Linked DNA regions of Homo sapiens: region 2 is linked to region 1. The links are contacts of gene promoters, found by promoter capture Hi-C in blood cells and fetal thymus (Javierre and others, 2016). All regions are on one chromosome and are shown on one strand. Each heading gives the region's core, a stretch centred on a gene start or on the middle of the fragment in contact. The rest is flanking DNA. Distances are from core to core; before and after follow the strand shown. Region 1 holds the start of MPEG1 (macrophage expressed 1). Region 2 has its middle 15 kb from the start of PATL1-DT.

Region 1 (5,868 bases), core at 1,123-3,622:
CTTATCCATGTAACAGTATGAATTTCCTGGCCCAGAGACCTAAACAAGAAGTCACGAATATACCTACTTTTGGTTGCACTTGCCATTTCAATGCTTAGGAAAACAGAGTGGTCAGCAATGACCACACTGGAGATGAGAGAAACCATTTTCGGGGAGAGATTTAAGCTGGACTCTGCCCCTGCTCTTGGTAAGTGGTGTCTCCAGTTGCTGCAGTGCCTGGAACCAAACTCTGCCTTTCCTCAATTGCCTGATATGCTTTCTTCTTGAACTTCCGGGTGCCGTAGATGGCCAAGGTGATAACAACAGCCAGAATGGTGGTGACCCCCACTGTGACCCCAGCTGCAGCCCCTCCTGACAGACCACCACCATCCCCATGGATGACATTCATGGCCCTCCGCAGCTCTATCGGTTCTCCCAGCCTCCACTGGTGGGTCTGGGAGTCTTTAATCCAGGATCTCGCATTCTCAGAATTGGTCACTATGACAGTATTGGTGGCAGCCTGACTCATGAGGGGTGGCCGGGTGAAAGGTGGGAGCCTGGCAGGGGGCAGGGACCCTCCTGTGAAGAGCCCGGATTTGACGCAATAGGACACTTGGCATCCATCGCTGATGAGGGCTGGGTGCTGGCTGAAGCCCCCGGGGCACTTTTTCAGAGACGGTGCCCCTAAATCTCTGGATATAGCAGGATCTACCAGGGGGTTCCCAACTGTGCAGCTAAAGAACCCGCCAAAGGGGACCGCAAACCTGCTTCCCAACTCATAGTCCTGAGAAACACATACCTTGAGGTTTTCAAAGAGTCTCAGTGGAAAGTAGCCGGCTGGGCATGACTGTGCATTTGTCATGGGGTTTATGCTCTTGCTGCTGAAGAGGCCCCCAAAAAGCAGTCCTGAGTTTTCAGGTACTTGGCTGCTGGCCACACACCAAAAAGCCCTAAATTCAGCTTTTGCCACCTGGAACACATCTTCACACACGGTCTTGCAGAAGACGAGGAGAGTGCACTTTCGATGACACTCCAGGTGGTTGTAACCCTCCTCGTGGATCTGGGATAACAGGTGCACCGGGGAGTAGCCAGAGGGGCAGGAGAAATCACCAGTGAGTGGATTCTTCTGCTCCAACTTTTGGCAGAGGAGGACATCCCTATTCCCTGAGAGCTGAGTGCATTCCTGATAAACCCCACCGAAAGAGAAGTTGGTCATTTTCCCCTCGCAGGAGCCATCATCCGTGTTGGCCTGAAAATTGAAGTTGGGAGAATTGAGATCTGTGCAGCCAGGGTAGGTGTTGAATGTATAATAGCGCTTCACAGCAGTTTCCACTGTCTTTGACACCTTCTTCACCAGGGGGCCTGGCAAGTCAGGTAGCATGTTGGGGTTGATGAAGAAATGCAGCGGCAGGCCAGAGCGGTCGATGGCCACCAGGTGGTTGGTGATACCCTGCTGCCAGGCCTGGAGGGTGATGCCTGGGTAAAAAGGAACCCCTCCAATGCTCTGCACCCTGGAGTTGGTTCGGTTTGAGAGGTAGCTCTTGGTGAGGACATTCTGCGAGGTATAGTTTTCCTCAAATTTGAAGTTCACGGTGTTTTGAAAGGCAAGTCCAGCAGAGGCGGTCACGGCACTACGACTGCTCTGGCTGTCTTGGAGGAAGGAGGCCCTGAGGTGGTCCTCCTGAATAAGAGCAGCCCCAGCGTCGACACTGGTGGTGACGTGGGTGCCATAGTTGAGCACCAGGAGTTCTGCCAGGTAGGTGGCCATCCTCGTCTGGTTGTTCTCTAGACGGTCAGAGATGTCAAGGAGTTCCTTCCTAAAACCTGAGCTTAGCTCTAAAGTTGGGTTGATTTTGACTGTGTAGACGAGGTTTCTTACCTGAACTCGGGTAGTTATAGCTTGGTCCTTCACTTGGAGGGTCTTCATCCTCTGGAACTCAGTGGAAAACTTGCCATTGACTTTGGAAAAAAGAGAGAGTTCTGTGTTGATGGAGTAGGAGGTGCTACTCTGGTAATTTGCCCAGGATTCCAGGATTTCTGAGTTCATCTCCAGGTTGCTCTGTTTCTGGGGAATGGTGAAGATTTCATCAGGGATGATATACTGTCCATCCTCTGTTGTCCTGCAGTTGGAGTAAGTCAATTCCATAACTCGTCCCATGTCCACATTCCGCAGATTGTCCCAGCCCCCTCCAGGTAGGACTTCCAGGACAGGTAGTTTCAAGGCATTCTTGCATTTTTGAACTCCAACTTCGTCCATCTCTCCCGAAGGCTTGCCTGATTTAGCCCATGCTGCCGCTGCCCAGAAGAGGATGGTGGCCCTGAAGTTGTTCATGGCTCAGACAGCCCCAGCCACTCACCAGCCCTACACAGCGGCCAGCAAGCTTTGGGCAAACTAAGATGGAGAAAACAGAAGCAGATGATGAAGCGGAAAACTCATGAGTTCTCTAAAAGCTACAAGTTCCTCTTTAAGCTAATTTAATGACAAAATGGGGAAACGAGAGTTGGTTGGAATATTAAAGACCATCAGGTCTTTGAAGAATTTATGCCGTACTAAACATGCAAACACACCCCTACATGCCTAACAGGTAGCTATCCTAATTTTTCCCCCAGCTCTGGCTGGTTACTCTGCTGCAGGGGTGTGCACTTAGAAAAAAATCCCGACCCCACACCCTACTGCTTCCTCCACCAGAAAGTTTGGCTTTGCTTTTTGCTCATTCTCTTGGACTTGATGTTTCATATTTTCCCTGACTGCTGTCTCTTGGGACTCCATTATCAGTTTTCTTTTACTATAAATGCAGAGGCAAATGACCACACCACCCTTACTGAAACACCCTGGCTCCACCATACCTATGCAAGCTGTTAGTCAAGGCCAACCCTGGGTTTCCTCTTTGCCTGAGGGTGGAGGCTGTTTCCACAAAAGAAAGGAGTGAAACTCTTGGACACTTGTCCTGTGGGTTTCACTGTTATGAACCATAGCAATTCTGTCTTTGGGGATGGCATTGTCTGGAGCACAGCTGACAGGGCCTGAAGAGGATTCGGTTGCAATATGCTGGGAAACCCCAATTTGCATTGTCCTAAGCATTCAAAGCGAGGGCAAGGAACTCCTACACTGTGTTGTTTTCATTCAGATAGAAATGTTCAAGACAAAACCACACTATTATCTAGATTTTGATTTATCAACAGCAGACAGGGGCCAAGGAACATATGTGTATGTGTACACACATTTATATATCCTCTGTGTGTGTGCATTTTGTATGAAGTTGGTACCTGTTATACCTTTAATTTTTTGTTCCATTGCTAAGTGTGTGTAATCAGTTTAGGTGGATAAAAAAGAATGTGGCTCTTCACTACCCAATATTTTTTCTAAAAGCAAAAATTCATTTGCTATATCATTAGAAGAATATAATTACATGAGTTTCTTTTCAAGTTCCAATGCCAGCTCTATTAGAGCCCATAATTTAAAACAATGGTGACAGGTTTGATTGAAACCCAACTCTGTTAATTCTTTGGGACAATTAGGCTATGTCTTAGTATGCTTAGTGGTAGCCAGGGAATCCAGAGGACTTAGTGAAGCTCCCAGTTGCATCCTTAACATTCCCAAGATTATACCATGAACTAGATACAGTACTGAGACTGAAAAAGTCATGTTGCAATTCACAGGTATCACTACACCATCACCTGTATGCATCCTGGAAGGAAGGTTCCAAGGAGTTGAATTCCTCTGTTGGTTATTAATGCAGCAAAGAAGTGTTTTTAGAAAGAATGAGGCTAGTTATCTTGCTTCCCAGGCTGGGCTTCACCAGTTATTATCAAAACCATGATGGTGTTCTATAAATCTAGAAATACTGCATTCCGGGTATATTTTTTTTTCCAAGACAGGGTCTTGCTTATTGCCCAGGCTTGAGTGCAGTAGCTATTCACAGGCATGGTCCCACTACTAATCAGCATAGGAGTTTTGACCTGCTCCATTTCCAACCTGGACCCGTTTAGCCCTCCTTAGGCAACCTGGTGATTTGCTCCAAGGAGGCCACCATATTGATGCTGAGCTTAGTGCAGACACCCAACTGGCATAGCACACTACAGCCCAGAACTCATGGATTCAAGCAATCCTCCCACATCAGCTTCCCAGGAATCTGGGACTGCAGTCATGCACCACCACACCTGGCCATTCTGGTTCTATTTGTGCCACAGTTATCATGCTTCTGGGAAGTGACACCAGCCACCTAAGAGGGATTAATTTATGAACCAGTGCCTAGTCTGTATTTGGCTAAAGAACCAAATCTTTGCACAGGATGTTCTAGTTAATTTATAAATCAGTTAGCCATAAATTTATACCTCAGCAGCATGATCCCAGAATTAGAAAAATGAGAGTTGAATGCCCTTGAGTACTTCCAATAAGTCTGTTGAAATACCTACATACTTCTCTTCAAACTATTTCTGGGATGGTTCATCAAAATTAGAATACTCTCACACTGCTTTGGAGACAAGCTGACAATTTGTTACCCTCTGCTTTCTCTTTAGTAGACCCTGTTGAGAGCTCACTCTCCTGAAATGAGAATACAAGCAAGGTTAATACAGACAATTCTATATTCAGGTGTTCCTATGTCTCCAGACGTCTAGTCACTGTATTTTTTATTCTATAGACTTTGTCTTCATTTTATCATAGGAAAAAAAAATTGAAAATAGCAGAAAGAGCCAACAACGGTAAAATTACATTGTACCCATAAGACAAAATATTGTATAGCCATCACAATTATTTAAAACTATTTTAATAACATGAGAAATTCTTATGCCATAATGTTACTGGAAAGGGTTCCCAATGCAGACCTCAAGAGAGAGTTCTTGGACTTTGTGCAAGAAGGACCAGGGCAAGTCCACAGAGTAAGGTGAAAGTAAGTTTATTAGAGAAGTAAAGAAACAAAAGAATGGCTACTCCATAGGCAGAGCAGAAGTATGTGCTGCTTGATTAAGGATACTTATCATTATTTCTTAATTATATGCTAAACAAGGGGTGGATTAATCATGAGTTTTCTGGGAAAGAGGTGGGCAATTCCCAGAACTAAGGGTTCCTCTCCTTTTTAGACTATACAGGGTAACTTCTGGAAATTGGCAGTCATGGCACTGGTGGAAACATCTTTTAGCATGCGAATGCACTACAATTAGTGTATAATGAACAATGAGGATGACCAGAGTTCACTCTTGTCGCCATCTTAGTTTTGGTGGGTTTTGGCTGCCTTCTTTACTGCATGCTCTTTTATCAGAAAGATCTTTGTGATCTGTATCTGTATCTTATGCCAATCTTCTATCTCATCCCATGACTTAGAATACTTAACCCTCTGGGAATGCAGCCCAGCCTTCTTTTACCCAGCCCCTATTCGAGATGGAGTTATTCTGGTTCAAATATCTCTGACAATAATGTTATGAAAAAAAAGAATGATAAACATTCAGCATGACCCCAACTATGTACATAACTAGAGGGATGTACGCCAATGCATAGACAGTAATTACATCTGGTTGAGAGGTTTTTCTAAATTATTTTAATTTTTTCCTCTTTTCTGTGTTTTTTGAGTTTTCAACAATGAGCATGTATTTATTAACTCGAGAAATTTGTATTCAGAGCCTATTAAGTACCAAACACTGATGGGTATTGGGTAATCATCACTTTTGTGCTCAGGAAAATAACCAATGCACAACCATGTAAAAAAAAAACAAAAGAAACAGGCCAGGCAGGGTGGCTCATGCCTGTAATCCCAGCACTTTGGGAATCCGAGGTGGATGGATCACTTGAGGCCGGGAGTTCAAGACCAGCCTGGCCAACATGGAGAAACCACATCTCTACTAAAAATACAAAAAAATTAGCCAGATGTAGTGGTGACACACAACTGTAAT
Region 2 (5,868 bases), core at 862-3,361, 470 kb after region 1:
AAGATGTTTGTGTAAAGTCAAACAGAAATCTGGCCTATGTGAACATCAAGGCACAGCACCTTTCCTTAAACTTATTTATGACACAGAGATCTTTGCTCACATGTTTTCCTGCTGACCCTCTCCCCACCATTACCCTATATCCTGCCATATCCCCATCTCTGAGATGGCAGAGATAGTAATCAATAAATACTGAGGGAACTCAGAGACCAGTGCCGGTGCAGGTCCTCCGTATGCTGAGCGCCGGTCCCCTGGGCCCACTTTTCTTTCTCTATACTTTGTCTCTGTGTCGTATTTCTTTTCTCAGTCTCTCGTCCCACTTGAGGAGAAACACCCACAGGTTGTGGAGGGGCAGGCCACCACTTCAGAAAATATACTGTCATAGGAGAAACAAGAAAAAATAATGAAAAGGAATGAAGAAAGCTTATGGGATTTATAGGATAACATCAAAAGAGCTAATGTATGGGTCATTGGAATTCAAGGGGAAGTAGAGAAAGATAAAGGAGTAAAAAGCTTATTTAAAGAAATAATAGCAGAAAACTTTCCAAACCTAGAGAAAGATACAATTATCCAGGTACGAGAAAGTCATAGGCCACCAATCAAATTTAATCCTAATAAGACCACCCTAAGACATATTATGATAAAATTGTCAAAGGTAAATGTCAAAGACAGGATGCTGAAATCAGCAAGAGAAAGTAACAACATAAAAGGGACTTTTGCAATACACTTAGCAGCGGACTTCTCAGCAGAAACCTGGTAGGCCAGGAGAGAGTAGGATGATATATTCAAAGTACTAAAGGAAAAAAACACCCTGTCAACTGACAATAGTGTACCGAGCAAAGCTGTCCTTCAGAAATGAAGGAAAAATAAAAACTTACCCAAACAAACAAAAGTTGAGGAAGTTCATCACTACTAGGCCTGCCTTACAAAAAATGTTAAAGAGAGTTCTTCAAGCTGAAATGAAAGGATGCTAATGAGTAACATGAAAACATCTAAAAGTACAAAACTCACTGGTAAAAGTAAGTATATAGTAAAATTCAGAACATTCTGATACTGTAATGGCAGGGGGACCACTTATATCCTTAGTATTACGGGTAAAAAATAAGACTTTAAAAAATAATAAATGTAAAAATTAGCTGGACATGGTGGCACATGCCTGTAGTCCCAGCTACTCAGGAGGCAGAGGTGGCAGGATCACTTGAGCCTGGGAGGCAGAGGTTGTAGTGAGCCGAGATTATGCCACTATACTCTAGCCTGGGCAACAGAGTGAGACCTTGTCTCAAAATAATAACAACTAAAATACTTTTTAAGGGATTTCCAATATAAAATTATGTAAATTGTGACATCAGTAATCAAAGTTGTTATCTGTTTAGTATAACATGTTATGAATATGTTTTTGTAAACCTTATGGTAACCACAAAACAAAAACCTATGATCAATATACTAAAAATAAAAAGGAATCAAAACAGACTGCCAGGGAGAAACACTTAACCACAAAGGAAGACAGTAAGAGAGGAATAAAGAAAAGATATGCAATACAAACTAGAAAACAATTAACAAAATGACAGTAATAAGTTCTTACCTATCAATAATTACCTGAATGTAAAAGAATTAAACTCTCCAATTAAAACACATAAAATGGCTGAATCTATATATACATCTATATATCTATATCTATCTATCTATCTATCTATCTATCTATCTATCTATCTATCTATCTAAAACCCAACTACATGCTGCCTAACCCTAATGTTGCACCTCAAGGAACTAGAAGAGAACAAACTAAACCAAAAATGAGTAGAAGGAAAAAAAATGAATAGAAGGAAGGATATAATAAACATCAGAGCAGAAATAATGAAATAGAGACTAAAAAAATACAAAAGATCAACAAAAGTTTTTTGAAAAGATGAACAAATTGACAAACCTTTATATAGACTAAGAAAAAGAAAAGATTCAAATAAATGAAATCAAAAGTGAAAAAGGAGAAATTATAACTGATACCAGAGAATACAAAGAATCATAAGAGAATATTATCAACAATTATATGCTAATAAATTAGATAACCTAGAAAAATGGATACATTCCTGGGCACATATAGCTTACCAAGATTAAACTATTAAAAAAATAGAAAATCTGAATAGAACAATATTGAATAAGGAGACTCAATCAGTCATAAAAAGTCTCCTATCAAAGACAAGTCCATGACCTGATGGCCTTACTGCTGAATTCCCAACATTTAAAGAAGAATTAATAAAATTCTTCTGAAACCATTTCAAAAAATTGAAGAGGAGGGAATTCTTTCAAATTTGTTCTATGAAGCCAACATTACTCTAATTACAAAAACAGACAAGGACACAACAATAAAAAACTACAGGCCAATAACCTGGATGAAAATAGATACAAAAATCCTCAACAAAATACTAGTAAACAAATTCACTAGCACATTAAAAATATTCATTATGATCAAATGGGATACATCCCAGGAGTGCAAGGATGGTTCAGTGTATAAAATCAATAAATGTAAAATATTACATTAACAAAACGAACAATAAAATCCATATGGCCAATTCAACAGATGCAGGAAAAGATTCAACAAAATCCAACATCTCTTACTGATAAAAACTCTCAACAAATTAGGTATAGAAAAAATATAACTCAACACAATAAAGGGCATATTTGACAAACCCACAGCTAGCATCATACTGAATGGGGAAAAGCTGAAAGCGTTCAAGATGTGGAACAAGACAAGGATGCCCACTTTCACCACTTCTATTCAACATAGTACTGGAAATTGTAGCCAGAAGAGTTTGGCAAGAGAAAGAAATAAAAGTCATCCAAAGTGGGAATAAAGAAGTTAGATTTTACGTGTTTACAGATGACGTGATCTTGTATATACAAAATCCTAGAGGCTCCACCAAAAAACTACTAGAACTAATAAACAAACTCAGTAAAGTTGTGGGATACAAAATCAACATATAAAAATTAGTAGCATTTCTGTATGGTGATGGAAAACTATCTGAAATAGAAATCTAGAAAACAATCCTATTATAATAGCTGCACAAAATAAAATGCTTAGGAATAAATTTAACCAAAGAGGTGAAATATCTCTACAATGAAAACTGTGAAACACTGATGAAAGAAATTGAAGAATACACAAATGAATGGAAAGATATTCCATTTTTTTATGGACTAGAAGAATTAATATTGTTAAAATGTTTCTACTACCCAAAGCAATCTACCAATTCAGTGCAATTCCTATCAAAATACCAATGATATTCTTCATGGAAATAGAAAAAAAAAATTCTAAAATTTTTATGGAACCACAAAAGGCTCCAAATACCCAAAGCAACCCTGAGCAGAAAGGACAAAGTTTTGAAGGCATCATATTGCTTGACTTTAAAATATATTACAAAACTGTAGTAACCAAAATGGCATGGTATTGGCATAAACAGAAATATAGACCAATGGAACAGAATGAGACCCAGAAATAAATCCACACATTTGCAGCCAACTGATTTTCAACAAAGGTGCCAAGAACACACTTGGGAAAAGGATAATCTCTTCAATAAATGGTGCTGGGAAAATTCAGTATCTACATGTAGAAGAATGAAATTAGACCCTTATCTCTTACCATATAAAAAAATCAACTTAAGATGGATTAAAGAGTTCCACGTCAGCCTTGAGAATATAACATTATTAGAAGAAGGCCTGGGGGAAAAGCTTCATGACCTTTGTCTGGGCAATAATTTTTTTTAAAGAAAACCTCAAAAGCACAGGCAACAAAGGCAAAACATATTTACAAATGGGATCACAGCAAATGAAAAAATCATCTAAACAGCAAATGAAATGATCAAGAGTGAAGAGACAACCTACAGAATGGGAGAATATGTTTCCAAAGTATACATCTGATATATAAGGAACTTAAATAACTCAACAGAAAAAAAAACCAGTTTAAAAATGGGCAAAAGAGACGCATAGACATTTCTCAAAAGAAGACATACAAATGGCCAACAGATATATGAAAAAAATGCTCGACATCGCTAGTCATCAGGGAAATGCAAATCAGAACTACTATGAGGTATCACCTCACTCGTTAGAGTGGCTATTATTAAAAAAAACAAAAGATGTGGAGAAAAAGGCACCTTTACACACTCATAATGGGAATATAAATTATTATAGCCATTATGGAAAACAGAATAGAGGTTCCTCAAACAATTAAAAATAGAACTGTCATATGATCCAGCAGTTTCACTGCTGGCTATATTTCCAAAGGAAATGAAATCAGTATGTTGAGGAGGTACCTGTACTCTCGTGATTATTACAGCACTACTCACAAAAGCCAAGATATGGAATCAATCTAAGTATCCATCAGTGGATGAATGGATAAAGAGTATATGATATATATACAAAATGGAATATTATTCAGTCATAAAAAGAACAAAATCCAGTCATTTGTGACAACACATGTGAACCTGGGGACATTATGTTAAGGGAAATAAGCCAGGCACAGAAAGACAAATACTACGTTATCTTACTCATGTATGGACTCTAAAAAAGTTGATCTCATAGAAATAGAGTAGAATAGTGATTTTAAAAAGTTGATATCATAGAAAGTGAGTAGAATAGTGATTATCAGAGGCTGGGGAGGGTGGGGGAAGATGAGGAGAGATTGGTCAATTGGTGCAAGGTTTCAGTTAGATAGGAGGAATAAGTTCTGGTGTTCTTTTGCACAGTAGGGTGACTATAGTTAACAATAATGTATTGTATATTTCAAAATAGCTAGTAGAGAGGATTTTGAAGGTTTCCACCACAAATAATAATTGTTTAAGGTAATAGATATGTTAATTACTTTGATTTGCTCATTACACTCTGTATACATGTATCAAAACATGACATTGAACTCCATAAATGCATACAATTATAATGTGTCAATCGAAAATACAATAAAACTAAAAAGTAGATTATGACATTATGATACAAATGTTATAAAATACCAGTGATGCAAACAATGTGGAATTGTAGGAACAATTGTAGGAATATGCAGACTAATTTATGGAACACAAAAGGCAGCCAACAATAACCAAACCTTAGGGTAAATGTGTGTTTAGTATGTGATAAAGATGATACCTCAATTCAATGGAAAAAGGAAACATAATTTAAAAAATTGTGCTAAAATAACTGGTAGAAAAGTTCAAGATTTGTAGCATAGCAGACAACAAAATAATTCCAGAATAATAAATAGGTTTCATGTAAAATTTTAAATCATAAAGCAGCAGGGACAAAATATGAATGGATATTTGTATGACTTCAGGATAAAATTTTAAAATTTATGATGAGTGGAAAAGTCACAGAGCAAAATTTTGATTACTGAATTCCATAATAATAAAACATACATAAAAATAACAAAGTTTCAAAATGATTTTTACACACACTTTAGAGTGTTAACATAAAATACAGACTTCAAAATCAGTCTCAAAATTCTTTAAGCACTTTAGAAAAATATACAAAAATTGTGAATGGCTATAATGTATGTGATTAGATCAATTTAATTAATAAATAAATGTAAACAAGATAGTTGACATTGTAAACCATCAGATTGACAAATGAAAGAAAGAAAGGAAAGAGGGGAAGGAAATGAGGGAAGGAAGGGAGGAAAGGAAGAAGGAAGGAAGGGAGAAAAAGAGTAGGAAGGAGGGAGGGAAGAGAGGAAGAAAGGAAAAGGGAAAGAAAAAGAGACAAAGCAAGCTAGTCAGCTCAGTGTTGACCATGATAAGGTGAACACTGTAAATAGCTTGCGGGAATAGAAATTAGTAAGTTTTTTAAATGCAATTTGCCAATGTGTATCTACAGGTTGAAAATATTTTAATCCTA

Evidence for each region. Contacts are between HindIII fragments. The CHiCAGO score rates a contact against its expected background, and 5 or more counts as called.
Region 2: a fragment that was not itself captured here is called in contact with the fragment with the promoter of MPEG1 in region 1 in 1 of 17 cell types (megakaryocytes); the score reaches 5.1 in megakaryocytes.

The regions. Positions count from the first base shown.
Region 1 is chr11:59,210,555-59,216,422 of GRCh38, forward strand. MPEG1 (macrophage expressed 1) reads right to left here and starts at 2,373. Exons shown (of 1, transcript NM_001039396.2): 1 at 1-2,373. The coding sequence starts at 2,311. The coding sequence ends at 161. It also overlaps the pseudogene RN7SL42P. RefSeq lists an enhancer at 2,350-2,549. The HindIII fragment of the contact is 5,135 bases long and covers 2,359-5,868 here.
Region 2 is chr11:59,681,773-59,687,640 of GRCh38, forward strand. No RefSeq gene overlaps it. Among named protein-coding and RNA genes, the nearest start is that of PATL1-DT, 15 kb to the left of the region's middle. The HindIII fragment of the contact is 3,207 bases long and covers 509-3,715 here.